Regions from separate parts of the Homo sapiens genome. Here all the other regions are linked to region 1. Evidence: promoter capture Hi-C in 16 types of primary human blood cells and fetal thymus (Javierre and others, 2016). All regions are on one chromosome and are shown on one strand. The core of a region is centred on a gene start or on the middle of the fragment in contact, and the rest is flanking DNA. Distances in the headings are between cores, read along the strand shown. Region 1 holds the start of STRIP1 (striatin interacting protein 1). Region 2 overlaps GNAI3 (G protein subunit alpha i3). Region 3 overlaps GNAI3 (G protein subunit alpha i3). Region 4 overlaps LOC124904258 (a long non-coding RNA gene).

The links. Contacts are between HindIII fragments. The CHiCAGO score rates a contact against its expected background, and 5 or more counts as called.
Region 2: a contact is called between a fragment that was not itself captured here and the fragment with the promoter of STRIP1 in region 1, in 1 of 17 cell types (M2 macrophages). The highest score is 5.4, in M2 macrophages.
Region 3: a contact is called between a fragment that was not itself captured here and the fragment with the promoter of STRIP1 in region 1, in 4 of 17 cell types (non-activated CD4 T cells, fetal thymus, activated CD4 T cells and 1 more). The highest score is 6.4, in non-activated CD4 T cells.
Region 4: a fragment that was not itself captured here is called in contact with the fragment with the promoter of STRIP1 in region 1 in 2 of 17 cell types (total B cells and M0 macrophages); the score reaches 6.4 in total B cells.

What each region holds. Positions count from the first base shown.
Region 1 is chr1:110,033,345-110,036,990 of GRCh38, forward strand. STRIP1 (striatin interacting protein 1) reads left to right here and starts at 1,280. Exons shown (of 21, transcript NM_033088.4): 1 at 1,280-1,473. The coding sequence starts at 1,294. It overlaps LOC105378895 (a long non-coding RNA gene), which reads right to left and starts at 2,095. Exons shown (of 3, transcript XR_947693.3): 1 at 2,065-2,095; 2 at 5-87. RefSeq lists an enhancer at 955-1,344 and silencers at 1,345-1,564, 1,805-1,874. The HindIII fragment of the contact is 6,759 bases long and covers 1-2,482 here.
Region 2 is chr1:109,578,704-109,582,925 of GRCh38, forward strand. It overlaps GNAI3 (G protein subunit alpha i3), which reads left to right. Exons shown (of 9, transcript NM_006496.4): 4 at 501-658; 5 at 3,734-3,862. Among named protein-coding and RNA genes, the nearest start is that of MIR197, 18 kb to the right of the region's middle. The HindIII fragment of the contact is 1,776 bases long and covers 608-2,383 here.
Region 3 is chr1:109,551,299-109,555,061 of GRCh38, forward strand. The region is part of intron 1 of GNAI3 (G protein subunit alpha i3); the gene reads left to right. Among named protein-coding and RNA genes, the nearest start is that of GNAI3, 4.6 kb to the left of the region's middle. The HindIII fragment of the contact is 1,395 bases long and covers 957-2,351 here.
Region 4 is chr1:109,772,971-109,776,688 of GRCh38, forward strand. LOC124904258 (a long non-coding RNA gene) reads left to right here. Exons shown (of 2, transcript XR_007066303.1): 2 at 2,102-2,458. Among named protein-coding and RNA genes, the nearest start is that of EPS8L3, 11 kb to the left of the region's middle. The HindIII fragment of the contact is 6,340 bases long and covers 1-3,718 here.

The DNA.
Region 1 (3,646 bases), core at 30-2,529:
TAACCGTTTGGGCTTCCTTTCTGTCCTTGTTGAATCCAGTTTGTGCAGGGACTCTCCACTCTTGGCGTCTTAATCCATTTTTTGTTGCTATAACAGAATACAAAACACTGGGTAATTCATAAAGGAAAGAAAGTTATTTTTTGCAGTTCTGGAGTCTGGGGAGCCCAAAGTCGAGGGGTTGCATTTGGTGAGGGCTTTCTTAAACTGCATGGTAGAGAGCCTCTCACGGTGAGAAAGCAAGAGCATGTGTGCCAGCTCAGATCACTCTTCCTCTTCTTATAAAGCCACCAGTCCCATCACAGGGGCCCTACCCTGACGATTTTATCTAATCCTAATCACCCCCTCAAGGCTCCACCTCCAAATACCATCAACATATGAACTTTAGGATTGAGTTTCCAACGTATGGAATTTGGGGGACACAGTCAAACCATAGCACTCGGTATCTGACCACCCTCAACATCTTAGCACCCTGTCCTGCTTTCAGCAATAATCCTGTTAGGTCAGTTTAGCAAGAAACTTCTTATCCTTGATGTTTCTCTTAGTAGTTTTCCGTCCACTGACCCTCATCCTGCTCTTTGGTTATAAATCCCCACTATATCTTGTTGGAGTCAGAGTTGAGTCTAATTCCTCTTCTTCACTGCAAGATCTGGTTGTAGTGGTCCCTGTAACTATCACCATGGGCTCTCTTACATAAAGTCTGCCTTACCATCTTTAATTAGTGCCATGAACAAATTTTCCTTTAACACTTTTCAGCATTTATTTCTCTATATTTGTCTATTGTTTGTCTGACCCACCAAGCACTGTTATGTACCGTGACTGCAGACACTTGTTCCTCATTTTATCCCACTGCTTGGTGCACAGGAGACATTTATTAAATGTTTGTTGAATGAATGAATGACAAGCACTTGTCACAACGGTAACTCTGTGAAGACTAGGATCCTATCCATTTTGTTCATTACAAAATTCCGCCTAAGCCTTGAACAAGGCTATGAGTTATAAGTGCAAAGCGATTTAGAGGAAGGAGGGGTAACTAAACTGACTGAAGAAGCTAAGGGAAGCCTCACAGATAAAATTACATCTAAACTGAAACTGAAAGGAAGGTGGAAAACTAAAAAGATCAACAAGGGAAGGACTGCAGACAGAATATCGCGAGGTATTGGTCAGCCAAGATGGCTTCTAACACTGGCCGCCACACTTAATATGGCGGCCAGGGAAATTTCCTGGAGAAAATCACGCGAGAGTTGCATCACGGCGGCTGTGCGCGAGTTAAGCTGGGGGTGTGGAGCAGCCAAGATGGAGCCGGCAGTCGGCGGTCCGGGCCCACTGATCGTGAACAACAAACAGCCCCAGCCCCCGCCACCTCCGCCGCCGGCAGCCGCACAGCCACCACCCGGGGCACCGCGGGCCGCCGCGGGCCTCCTGCCTGGGGGCAAAGCCCGCGAGTTCAACCGCAACCAGCGCAAAGACTCAGAGGTCAGGAGCTTCGGGGGGCGAGGCTCGCACCGGGTCGGGCGGCGCCGGGGGTCCCGGGCCCGGGGCCACTCTAGGGGCCAGGTTGGGCTTCCCGGAGGGCTCGGTAGAGTCCGGCCGAGAACTGTCACTATACAGCGAAAGGAGCAGGAAGCGAGGCTGGCAGCTCCTGGGGTCTGGAGCATGAGTCCTTGCTCTAGCTCCGCCGCCCGGGAGAGCTTCCCGTGGCCGGCGACTGCTGGTTTGCTCCCCTGGGCCCCGACTGTGGGCGTGGCCTCGAGGCCCTAGCCCCTGGGGAAGCCGCTCTCGCCCCAGCTCGGGGGTGAGGAGTCGGGGGTCTTGGTGCACTCCAGGGCGCTGGGCTGCCGCGCCCCCAACCTAATCATCTCGGGCGTCTGTCCCTGGCACGCGGGCTCCAGCTCCTGGGTCCTGCCGCTCGCAGAGGAAGGCGCGTGTGGGCAGGGAAGGCGCCGGCGAGGATCTGGAAGGAACTTAGAGCCGGACCGAGCTAATTATCATTGAGAGTAGAGTAGGAGGGGGAAACATGTCCTGTTCTTCTGACCTGAGCCAGATCAGGCCATGGGTTAACAGTACCTGTGGTGGGCTATTGTGCCCAGTGCGCCTGATACTGAACTGTTAAAGATGAGAAATAGACATTTTAAGCATGCGTTAGGACCCAACATTCCTTCCTGTCTCGCTAGTGAGCCGTTCCTGCCGTTCTGGAGATGGCATAGTCTGGAACTGACTAGTAACCTCACCCCAAGTTAAGGAATTCCTCCCACTGCCTCCTTTTGCAGAATTCATGAATGAAGATACTCATGTCGCGGAGTTTTAGGGCTTCTTAATGAGCAGGTTCCCAGAGCACTTACTATGCCATCTCCTAGATTGATCAGCAGCCAAACTGATCAGCCAAGTTAATGAGAGGGAATTCCTAGTTGTCCAAGCATAATGTACCAATTCATACCAAAGAGCAATGATACTACCTTTAGACCTGTGGAATCAGTTCCTCAGAAGCTTTTATTTTTTGTTAGCAAGGCTAAACCCCTGAGAAAACATGTCAACAATTGGCAAGCCCGAAGTAGACGTAATTTGAGCTTGGAGTGAATTATTTGAAAAAAACAAAAACACTGACCATTTAGGAGCCCTGGCATGGTGGGATGACGGACATCAGTGTTAACTACTCAGTTTTTCAAGTGGAAGATTACGAAAGTGCAGGGGGGTGAACCTACCTTCATCATGAGAGGAGTTATCATTTTGAAAAATGGTTTAAAATTTTCCAGAGTAGCTACGAATGGTCAAATAGATACCCTCTGACGAATTGTAATTTCTCTTTGTACCCTTTAATTTCCACATAGAGGCCGGGTGCAGTGGCTCACGCCTGTAATCCCAGCACTTGGGGAGGCCGAGGCGGGCGGATCACCTGAGGTCAGGAGTTCCTGTCCAGCCTGGCCAATGTGATCAAACCCTGTCTCTACTAAAAATACAAAAATTAGCCGGGCGTGGTGGCTGGTGCCTGTAATCCCAGCTACTCAGGAGCCTGAGACAGGAGAATTGCTTGAACCTGGGAGGTGGAGATTTGCAGTGAGCCGAGATTGCACCATTGCACTCCAGCCTGGGTGACAAGAGCGAAACTCTCCCCGTCTCAAAAAAAAAAATTTCCTCATAGACTCATTACATGAAAGACCAGTCAAATGGACACATTTAAGCAGAGACCTGTCTAAATCCATTTCTTTATAGAGAGTCTGATGCCATGATCTTTCTTTAGTCATAGCTGAAATCGGTAGTTTGGGAGCCTGATCAGTGAATGCCTGGAGGACAGGGAGGCTCACATTTGATGAGAGCCCACTATGTACTACATAATTTTGATTAGTCCTTAAAAATCTTCAAAGTAGATTTTCATCATTGCCATTCAATGAATGAAGAAACCGAAGCTCAGTAACTTGTGAAAGTGTACACTGTGTTATCTCTGAACACAACGTGGAGTTCTTGTTTGTGGGTATGTTTTTTGTTTTGTTTTGTTTTGTTTTGAGACAGAGTCTCTGTCTGTCTCCCAAGCTGGAGTGTAGTGGCGCGATCTTGGCTCACTGCAACCTCCACTTCCGGGGCTCAAGCGATTCTCCTGCCTTAGCCTCCCGAGTAGCTGGGACTACAGGCACGCCCCACCATGTAAAAATAT
Region 2 (4,222 bases), core at 246-2,745, 450 kb before region 1:
CTGTCTGGGCTGAAGGCAAAGAAGAGAATACTTTTTTCTTAAACTTGATTAATGTTTTACTCCCTTTGAGGTGTTTAGACTTTACCTCTTATGTGCTAGTCTTTTTATTTCTATTTTTAGTGTAGGCTTCCTTTAATAGAACGGGAATGTTTTACATAATCCTGTCTCATAAACCAGTTTTTTTCTCTCAAAAATTATTAGCAATCTGGATGGAGATTTGTGGGCTGGCCAGAAATGATCTTTTCTGGGGATGGTGGTGTGTGGAGGAGTGGTGGGGAAGTAAAATCATTCCTCAGCTCAGTTCTGGACTTAAAACTGTAGTGAAATGAGAATAAGGAAAGACTTAATTATAAATTCTGTCATGCTGGCCTGTCAGAAAAGGTCTCTGTAACAACACCTCTTTTAACATAACATGTAATGTGTCTATATTTTAAAGAGACTGTCATCAAGTCTTAAAGAAATGGAGAGTCATCTGTCTCTTTCTTAACTGCTTTCTTCAGGATGATGCCCGGCAATTATTTGTTTTAGCTGGCAGTGCTGAAGAAGGAGTCATGACTCCAGAACTAGCAGGAGTGATTAAACGGTTATGGCGAGATGGTGGGGTACAAGCTTGCTTCAGCAGATCCAGGGAATATCAGCTCAATGATTCTGCTTCATAGTAAGTAATTTTTCTCTGTGAAACTATAACAGAGAATAACTTGGTGACACTACAGAAATTTTAGTCCCCACTTAAGGAAATGTTTAAGTAATAGACACTCTTAGACGTTTATAGGATACTTTATAAAAATTGTCTAAGTTTAGGATTATAGAGCCCTTGGTCATTTGTATGATTTGGAGAAAAAAGTTCCCTCTTGGAATGTAAATGGGAGACTTGGCACCACAAAATTAGTTCCATGGCATTTTATTATAAGCAAGTGAAGGAGGAGAGACATCTGTTGTGGCTGGGTTCTGAATCTGTTCCAACTCATAAGTTCCCTCTGTGTAAGGGCTTGGCACTGATAGCCAGCTAGAGAGGGAAATTAGAATAGTGGTATTCCTTTTTATGCAGCCAGCTCTCTGTGTCTGGGCCGCACTATGGACTTCACTAGTAACCCTTTTGCCAGATCACAGTAGTAGACTTTGTATAGAAAGAGAAGGTTGAGTCATGGAATGAAGTTGAAGTATCTTTTTGTCAAGGATATTATCTTGAGTGTTAATATAGTTTTAGAGAATTTGTAATGAATACTTATATTAAGCTATTACATGTTATCCTATTTTACCTCTTTTACATATACTTATTTATGAAACCTAGATTCAGAATGTATTTTTTTTGTTTTGAGACGGAGTCTCGCTCTGTCGCCCAGACTGGAGTGCAGTGGCTCCATCTCCGCTCACTGCAAGCTCCACCTCCCAGGTTCACACCATTCTCCTGCCTCAGCCTCCCAAGTAACTGGGACTACAGGCGCCCGCCACCATGCCCGGCTAATTTGTATTTTTAGTAGAGACGGGGTTTCAACGTGTTAGCCAGGATGGTCTCGATCTCCTGACCTCGTGATCCACCCACCTCTGCCTCCCAAAGTGCTGGGATTACAGGCGTGAGCCACCGTGCCTGGTCCGGAATGTATTTTTTTTTAATGTACTTTTGCGGGGCCTGGTGAGCACTTGTTATCTGTATTTCTCTCTGTACTGGATGAGGGCACGTTTAAGCATTAAAGTTTTTTCTCCAATATTACTGTTTTCCTACTTTTCACGTCATGATTCTAGCTTAAATTGTTACAAGAAGAAATTAAATGATATAGTCAGGCTGTGCATAAGGACAGGGATACTTTCTGAAAAATGCATCATTAGGTGATTTGTCATTGTGTGAACATTGTAGAGTATGCGTACACAGAATTAGATGGTATAGCCTACTACACACCTAAGCTATATGGTATAGCCTGTTGCTCCTAGGCTATGAACCTGTACAGCATGTTATTGTACTAAATACTGTAGGCAATTGTAACATAATGGTAAGTATTTGTGTATCTCAGCATCTCTAAACATATAAAAGGGTAATGCAATGGCTATGATGTCACTGGGGCTAGGAGTGTTTCAGCTCCATTATAATCTTACAGGATCACTAGCATACATTTATACAGTCTGTTGTTGACCAAAACATTGTTATGCAGCACATGACTGTATTTGAAAACTTGCTTATTCTTTCAATGAGAACTTGGCTTTAGAAACGTTTCAGGATTCTTGCCTACCTTTTAATAACATCTTAGTTGCAAGTATTGATAGCTTAAATAATTCTACCAGTGGTCATCAAAGGTAGATTATAATTGCTTTTTTTCATCTTTCATTCAGAAAGCTCTGAATCCTCTAACTACATGTGCTTATAGAGATTTTCATAACTGTTGATCTAAGCTTGCCTCTTTACATTAGTGATAGTATTTGGTTTTATAGATCATTAATGATTCACTTACATTGGTGCCATCTGCTCATCAGTTTTCTAGCCTGGAATCAGCAAAGAATACAGTTTTGAAGCAGTCTTTTAATTATTTCCCTGAACAAATTAATTTTTTTGGAGGTATTTACAATTTGTTTTTGATTTAGATTAAAAAAAAAAACCCCAGACCTCCCCAGCTCTTCTGTTTACTGAAAGAAAACGGAAAATATTCTTACTCACTATAGTTCTCTCAATTTTAGTTAATCAAACACCATTCTCTAATGTCCTGTCAAATGGTTAAACACGCATGACCTATTGAGTTTAATTGTCTGAGGACTTTTGGTATAGTTTGGTTTTGATATTATACAGTACACAGTTGATTTAGTATTACATTTCAGGAATTTTTCTTTAATAAGAACATTTCCTGTTCCTATTGTTTTAATTTTTTAAATTGGCCTTCACAATTTAATTCTGTAGAATTAAACCTACTTTTGTGTCCGGGCGCGGTTGCTCACGCCTGTAATCCCAGCACTTTGGGAGGCCGAGACAGACGAATCACCTGAGGTCAGGAGTTTGAGACCAGCCTGGCCAACATGGTGAAACCCCATCTCTACTAAAAATACAAAAAATTAGCTGGGCGTAGTGGCGGGCACCTGTAATCCCAGCTGTTCAGGAGGCTGAGGCAGGAGAATCATTTGAACCCAGGAGGCGGAAGTTGCAGTGAGCCGAGTTCGCACCACTGCACTGCAGCCTGGGTGACAGAGTAAGACTCTGTCTCAAAAAAACAAAACAAAACAAAACAAAACAAAAAAACCTACTTTTGTTAATATATATAGACTCTATACTTTAATTGTCCTATGTTGGATTCATATTTTTTCTTATTATTTCTTTCTTTTTTTAAGAGACGGGGGTCTCACTCTGTCACTCAGGCTGGTGTACAGTGGCACTCTGCAGCCTTGACCTCTTGGGTTCAAGTGATCCTCCTGCTTCACTCAAGGGTAGGAGGATTAGCTAGGACTACAGGCATGCACCACCATGCTTAGCTAATTTTTAAAATATTTTGTAAAGACGGGTTTCTTTATGTTGCCCAGGCTGGTCTTGAACTCCTGGCCTCAAGCGACCTTCCTGCCTTGGCCTCCCAGAGTGTTGGGATTACAGGTGTGAGCCACCATGCCTGGCTTATCATTTCTATGATACTGAAGATCTGATTCTGTTTTGCCACTTAATAACTAGTAACAGGTTTAAAATAGGAACTAATTTAGTCTGTTCATTTGCTATGCACATGGTTGGCTTCACCAAGTAAAAGTAAACGTGTCTTTTATTTAGTTATCTAAATGATCTGGATAGAATATCCCAGTCTAACTACATTCCAACTCAGCAAGATGTTCTTCGGACGAGAGTGAAGACCACAGGCATTGTAGAAACACATTTCACCTTCAAAGACCTATACTTCAAGTAAGTCATTAGCCTTTTTGCTAGGTGTGCCAAATACAAGTATCTTTCATTTTAGTTTACCATCTCTTAATCAGGGTAAAATTTCTCTGGGCAGTATTCCTTGGTTTAAACTTAACATATTTATCAGCATTGTTTGAATATTTTAACTGAATGGGGGCCCAAACATCTCTTGTTTCTCCAAATAGCGTCAAATGTTTGTGTCCTTTTAGAGGAATTTAAATTCAAAAATAAATTTAACTTGCCTCCCAGTAAAATTTTTCCTGTGATAACTGGTTTGTTTTAATTTTATTATTTTCAGCTGCTTTTTTGTTAGACTCACCAATTCAGATATTGAATGTTTAATAGGATAACAATATTAAA
Region 3 (3,763 bases), core at 404-2,903, 480 kb before region 1:
TCTATGCTATTTCTATAAGCAAAATGTACCCAAAACAGTATACAGTTTTCTTTTTCCTGGATAATGTCTCCTTTGCTGTAGATGCAAGTCATTTTTACTTTATCACTATGGAACTTAGTTTAAGTTGAGATCTATCTACTTACCCTGTGTCTCCTGACACATGATATATTTTCTTTCTTATGGGGGTGTAGTTTAACATGGTGATTAATAGCATGGGTCCTGAAGTCAGACTGCTTTAAATCCTAATTCCCATTTACTAGTTATAGCCTTGGGAAAGTTAATTTCTCTTGGCCTCAGTTTTCTTATCTTTAAAATGGAGAAAATAGAGCTACTCCTAGGATTGCTGTGAGGATTAAATATGGTAATAATGTAAAGCAGAACACAGCTTGGCACATAGTACTAGCTCCATGAAGATTAGCTATTCTTATTAAGTCAAAATGAATGTTACAGATTGTAGGTATTATGGAAATTATACCAAATTAAGCAGCTAGTGTGGGCCAGATTATTTACAGACACTTCAGTATTGTAATTCTTCCTTTGATAACCTTTGGTTTGAATTTCATTTAGATGTTCTTGGAAAGGGCTGGGCGTGGTGGCTCCTGGCTGTAATCCCATCACTTTGGGAGGCCGAGGCTGGTGGATCACCTGAGGTCAGGAGTTCGAGACCAGCCTGGCCAACATGGCGAAACCCCATCTCTACTAAAAGTACAAAAATTAGCCGGGCGTGGTGGTGTGCACCTGTAGTCCCAGCTACTTGGGAGGCTGAGGCAGGAGAATCGCTTGAACCCGGGAGGTGGAGGTTGCAGTGAGCAGAGATGACGCCACTGCACTCTAGCCTGGGTGACAAAGTGAGACTCTTTGTCTCAAAAAAAAAAAAAATAAAGTGTTCTTGGGAAGATCTTGGTATATCAAATTAGTGTTTAATTATGACATTCTATTGAAAAAATACCATGCAAAGCTTCCCAACCAATGTTCCAGTGCTTAGGATGGCATATAGGTGTGCTGTTTACAAATTTTTTATAGCATTGAAATTTTAAATCATTTTTATAAGTTCAAACTTTTACAACAGTTGAAATTACATTTGAACATCTTTGGTATGATTTCCTCTTGTATAATTCATGAATTTGGTAATTTGGTTATTTACTATTTAAACAATTAGAGATGGGGGTCTCATTATGTTGCCCAGGCTGGTCTCAAATGCTTGGCCTCATGTGATTCTCCCATCTCAGCCTCCCAAAGTGCTGGGATTACCAGTGTGAGCCACTGTGCCTACCCTACCATGAATTTGGTAATTTGAAAAAATTTTATTTGGTATAAATACTAAATTTATACCAATTTAATATTTAATATCATTTGTAATACTTTGTATTTTTTTCATGCCATAATTTCATAATAAGAAATTTTGTGTGTGCGGGTTTTGTTTTTGTTTTTTTTTGACCCCAGGGCAAGCAAGAAAATTTTTTTTCACCAAGCTCTTTCAGCTCACCCCAATGAGCCTTACAAATATTTTTAATGTGTGCCATCATGTGACAAAGGTTGGGAAGCACTGGTATAATGGATAAGAGCACTGCTTTTGGATTCACACAAAACTGAATTTAAGTTCTACCTCCACTTATTAGCTCTGAGACCCAGAGCAAGTAACTTAACCATAAGAATAATAATTTTTACATATGTAAAGCAGAGATGATGTTTCATAATATGAAATGAGATAATGCATGTAAAATGCTTCACATTAGTGCCTAGCAAATAAAAAATAGTAAGTGGTCACTTCTATTGATGATGATGATCGTGAGAATTACCATTTTAGCTACTTTTTTCAGAGGTTTTTCAGACAGCTGTTTTATTATTTTTCATATTAATATACTATTTTCAAAGATCTTCAAAGAATTTTAATATCCTTTTGTGGTGAAAGGAATTAAATGTTAGTCCTTTTTTTTTACTCATCACTGTACTAATGAAGATACTTAGTTTTGTAAATTATTGAATTATCTGCTCTCTGTATTTCTGTTTCTTGATAGTTTCCTTTAGCAGGTTCTGAGAAAACATAAAAAAAAACTTTGTTCTTTGGGATTTGCTGGTGGTAGTATGGCAAAAAGCCAGTTGCATGCAGAGAACTGGAATCATCTAATTTACTTAAACTCTATATTATACAGTTAATTATATTTAAATTGCTGCATATTATTGGCTGAATATGCTTATTATTGAGAATAAGACTGCCCTTTGGTAAACATGCCATTACATTATATCCTCCTATGGGATTATACCCTTTATTATGTTTGCCATTTGCTTGGGATAAGGTTCATGGCCAGTTACATTTCATGTGAGGATGCATCTGTGTTTCGGGGAAAAAAAGCTTTGTGTTTTATAAGCATGTATCATTCTTTGTGTCTTTTATTTAAATGCATTAGTCACTTTTTTAACATTTCAATAGGTTTTTGGGGAACAGGTTATGTTTGGTTACGTGAATAAGTTTAGTGGCAATTTCTGAGATTTTGGTGCACCCATCACCTGAGCAGTCTACACTGTACCCAATGTATAGTCCTTTATCCCTCACCACCTTCCCACCCTTTCCCCCGAGTCCCCAAAGTCCGTTGTATCATTCTTAGGCCTTTGCATCCTCATAGCTTAGCATCCACTTACAAGTGAGAACGTACGATGTTTGGTTTTCCATTCCTGAGTTACTTCACTTAGAGTAATCGTCTCCAGTTCCATCCAGGTTGCTGCAGATGCCATTATTTCATTCCTTTTTATGGCTGAGTAGTGTTCCATGGGTGTAGAGGGGTGTGTGTGTGTGTGTGTGTGTATATCACATTTTCTTTATCCACTCGTTGATTGATGGGCATTTGGGCTGGTTCCATATTTTTGCCATTGTGAATTGTGCTGCTATAAACATGCGTATGCAAGTATCTTTTTTGTATAATGGCTTCTTTCCTCAGGGTAGATACTCAGGAGTGAGATTGGTGCATCAAATGGTAGATATACTTTTAGTTCTTTAAGGAACCTACACACTGTTTCCCATAGTGGTTGTACTAGTTTACATTCCCACCAACAGCGTGAAGGTGTTCCCTTTTCATCACATCCACACCAACATCTATTTTTTTTTTATTATGGCCATTATTGCAGGAGTAAGGTGGTATCACATTGTAGTTTTGATTTGTAGTTCCTGATAATTAGTGATGTTGAGCATGTTTTCGTAAGTTTGCTGGCCATTTGTATATCTTGTGAGAATTGTCTATTCAAGTCCTTAGCCCACTTTTTGATGGGATTGTTTTTTTCGTGCTGATTTGATTTCCTTGTAGATTCTGGATATTAGTCCTTTGTCAGATGTATAGATTGTGAAGATTTTCTCCCACTCTGGGTTGTCTGTACTCTGCTGATTTCTTTTGTTGCTCAGAAGCTTTTTAGTTTAGTTGAGTCCCATTTATTTATTTTTATTTTTGTCTTTGCATTTGCTTTTGGGTTCTTGGTTGTGAAGTCTTTGCCTAAGCCAATGGCTAGAAGGGTTTTTCCAATGTTATCTTCTAGAATTTTTATGGTTTTGGGTCTTAGATTTAAGTCAGTAGCCCTATACACCAACAGCAACCAAGCTGAGAATCAAATCAAGAACTCAACCTTTTACAGTAGCTGCAAACAAAAAACAAACAAACAAACAATACTTAGGAATATACTTGACCAAGAAGGTGAAACACCTCTACAAGGAAAACTACAAAACACGGCTGACAGAAATCATAGATGATACAAACAAATGGAAACACGTCCCATG
Region 4 (3,718 bases), core at 332-2,831, 260 kb before region 1:
CCTCAGTGGATTCTGTGCCAGGAATATTTGTCCATATAGACACCTATGCAGACAGACCAAAGGGCTCCCAGAAGGAGCTGGTGAGCTTGGCCTGTGGCTCTGCAGACCTTCCCATCAGGCTGAAGGGGTCCCGCCCTGCGAAGAACATAGGCCACCAAAGATCTTGCCCTGAGAGGCCTACCCAGAATTCCAGAACTGTCCCCAGTGGATGTAGGCAGCTGTGGAACAGTGGGTAGGGGACCGCCCCTCCACCAGTGATCTGAGATCCAGAGGCCCTCAGAGAAAATGCCGGGACTCTCCAGCCCCAGGGCAGCTGGGAGACCATGGGGAGGACGGTGACCTCTGTGATTCAAGGCAGGCATCCACTGTGTCTGGCCCTTCAGTCCTCTCAGAATGTGGCCCTCTGGACTGGACGGGGCCGAGAGAGACCCACCATCCCTCAATTCCCGACTCCCTGAGGCCATCCCTCAGACAGGGTGCTCACAGCCAGCCAAGGCAGGCCCTGTCTCAACTGGCCAGCTCTGACCATTAGAACATTCTTCCTTAGGCCAAGCTCAGACCTGCATTCCTGGAGCGTCCCTGCAATGTGCCCCTCTCTGACGGCAAGCCCTTCAGATATTTAGAGATGGTATCACGCCCTCCTGGAGCTGCCCAGAGACCATCAGAGCCAGAGCCCCTGGGTTCAAATTAAACTCTTGGAACCTCAGTTTCCTCATCTATGAAATGGAGACAACCATGGCCTCTATTTATGGAACGCACGCCCTGGCCAGGCATTGCATTAAGCATGCCACGTGCCTAGCACATAGACATTTATTAAGGCTTCCAGATCCTTGGCCAGACGAGTGGCACTGGTTCCTGGCTGTCTGCGGAGAGGTGCCGGCTCCCTCTGCTGGAAATAGTGAGTCGCAGTCAGGACGGGAGAGGACAACGTAGAACTGCACTCTGGGTGGGAGGGACCTCAGAGATGACCTGGCCCAACATGGTGTTTTACAGATGAGGAAACTGAGGCCAAGGGTGGCCGCCTCACTGGATGACCTCTTTGAAGTTTGCCTGTGTGGGTCCCAGATTGGGGCACTCTCTCCTGCCCCCCAACCATGTGCTGCAGAGAGGAGCTGGGCAGTTTGGTTCTAATGGGCTCCCTGACTTCTGAACCTCACTTTCCATTCCAGCCCACCTCATCCCTCTGGGACTACTGGGTGGAGTGTTGGGAAGGACACCGCCAGGATGCAGGCACAGGGCAGGGGCAGGGGCTCCAGCTGTGCACTTCCTTCCCCCAGCAAGCTGCAGTTCCAGGGAAGGTCCTGAGGGCAAGGCAGGAGGTCAGGAGGGTGGGGCGTCAGGAGGGCTGGGCTGTGGCATCCACCCACCCACACCATGCCTGGGAAGGACAGAGCCCACAGAGCTGGGGTCTCCCAGCCGGTGCCACTCGGGGAAGCGAAAGGGAGCTGCACAGACATCTAGGTCCAGGCTGCATTTGCTCATCCAGCTGGTAATATGACTGATGGGTAGAGAGGTCCAAAGGGACTTCCAGTGGGGACACTGGCAGACTTGGAAGATTCTGGAAACTTGTAGCTTCTCCGTGCTTGCTGTTCATGGTACTAGCTCTCTGCTAGGAGCTATGTGATGTGCTTTATGGTTATTATTTTTCTTTTCTTTTTTGAGATGGCGTCTTGCTCTGTCACCCAGGCTGGAGTGCAGTGACGTGATCACGGCTCAAGTGATCCTTCCACCTCAGCTTCCTGAGTAGTTAGGACTAGAAGGGTGTACCACCACACCCAGCTAATTTTAAACTTTTTTGTAGAGACAGGATCTTGCTATGTTGCCTAGGCTAGTCTTGAACTCCTGGCCTCAAACGATCCTCCTGCCTTGGCCTCCCAAACTGCTGGCATGACAGGCATGAGTCACTGTTCCCGGCCTCTTTTCAATAATACTACAACGTAGGTATTATTAGGTCCATTTCATGAATGGGGAAACTGAGGCTTGGAGATTTAAAGAAATGGTCAGGTATCTAGAAGAGCTGTCATGAGCCCATGTCCTCTGACGTGAATGCCTTTTCACTAACTGCATTGCCTCTCATCTGTTCTTGTCTCTGTACCCTCAGTGAATAGCCATGGAGCTCCTAAAAAGAATGGGACCTTTCACTTGACCTCCCTTCTCTCCCTTGCCTACTGCCCCTGAGCGAGTGCTTCAGCTACAGTCTGGGAGCCGAAGATGCCTGTGTTTGATGCCTCCAGCACCCTGTCTCTGCATCTTGAATCCAGCCACGTGACCATCTCTTGCCCACCTTTGGCCAATGTCCCTGAGACATTTCAAGTGCATCATGCTGCAGACTGGTGTTGCTGTCTCCACAATACCGCGCTTCCCCTGTGTCCCCATCTCAGTCTTTGGTCCCACTATCCACTTCCCACATGCAGCCATTGAGTCCTCTATTTTTCTTCCTTAAATCTCCAGAATCTGCTGACAGTTTTACTTCTCTGTTATTATTGCTTTAATTCAGACCCCCCCCCCCACAATCCTTTACCCCTTATTCCCCCACACCCTCCCGAGCCTTTCCTGCCATCTCCTTTCCAGGGGATACTCCCTTCTGAGCTCTCTCCAGCTCTGCCCAACAGAGTTTTCTAAAATTCCAATCTGCACATGTCACTCCCTGGCTTATAAATCCTTCAGTTGCTCCCATGCTTTAAAAGAAAATCATACACCTTGACTTTGCACATGGCATTTGAGCTCTGCCTCTGCTGGTTACCAGGTCTCACCCTTCTGCTGCAAACCCAGACACAAAGACAACCCAAAGCTCCCTGAAGGCACCTGCAGCACTTTGCCTCTCCACACCTTGCTGCTGCGTCGGCCTCCCTGCTTTCTTTGCTTGGCCAAAGCCTCATCTTCCCTGCCATCTCACCTCAAACATCTCTGCCTCTAGAAGGCTCCCTGGACTCCCCTCACCCCTCAGCTGGTTTGGCGGTTGTGATCTGAGATAGCACACCTCTTCTTATATCTCTGTCCAAAACCTTAATGTAAGACATTGGTGAATACCTTAATTTTCTCTTCCACTAAGTGATGTTACTTTGAGCAGGTTTTATGTCTTTTTTGTGGGATACCCACAGTCAGGCCAGTGCCTGGCACCTAATAGGTGATTGCTGAGTCAGTGAACAAGTAAACAAATGAATGAAGAAGGTAGAAAGGAAACAGAAGTTAGGAGGGCAGAAGTGGCTGGGAATGGAGACAGTGGCCTGGAAACCTCCTGGAGGAGGGGTCAGCATCCCTTGGTCACAAATTTCTCTCCTACCTGGCTGCACATTAGGGGGACTCTCCGCTCTTTCCTGCCTCTCCCTGGCAGACTAGTGACTCCTGGACACCAGTAGTGGGAAGGCAAGGGGCCTGGAGGCTGGTCAGAGACCCACACAGAGACCATCCTTTTCCCTTCCCAAGGGACGCTGCCAGCCTCTGCAAGAAGACTACCCAAAGGCTGGTGGATGGCATGGAAACATGAGTGCTGGAATGCGATCGCCTTTCCCGCCCAGCACTGATTATGCACCATCTGTGTTCTGGGGCCTGTGCTGAAACTCTGAGCTTGTGCACATTCCAATGTGATGCCATCCTTTGGCTTAGTTTCAGATGAGACTAGGGTGGGCACAAGCCACAGGTGGCAAGATTGAGCTCTAGGCAATGAGTGCCAGGGGACAAAGGTGAGGATGCCGGGGCTGCACAGTCAGCAAGGAGG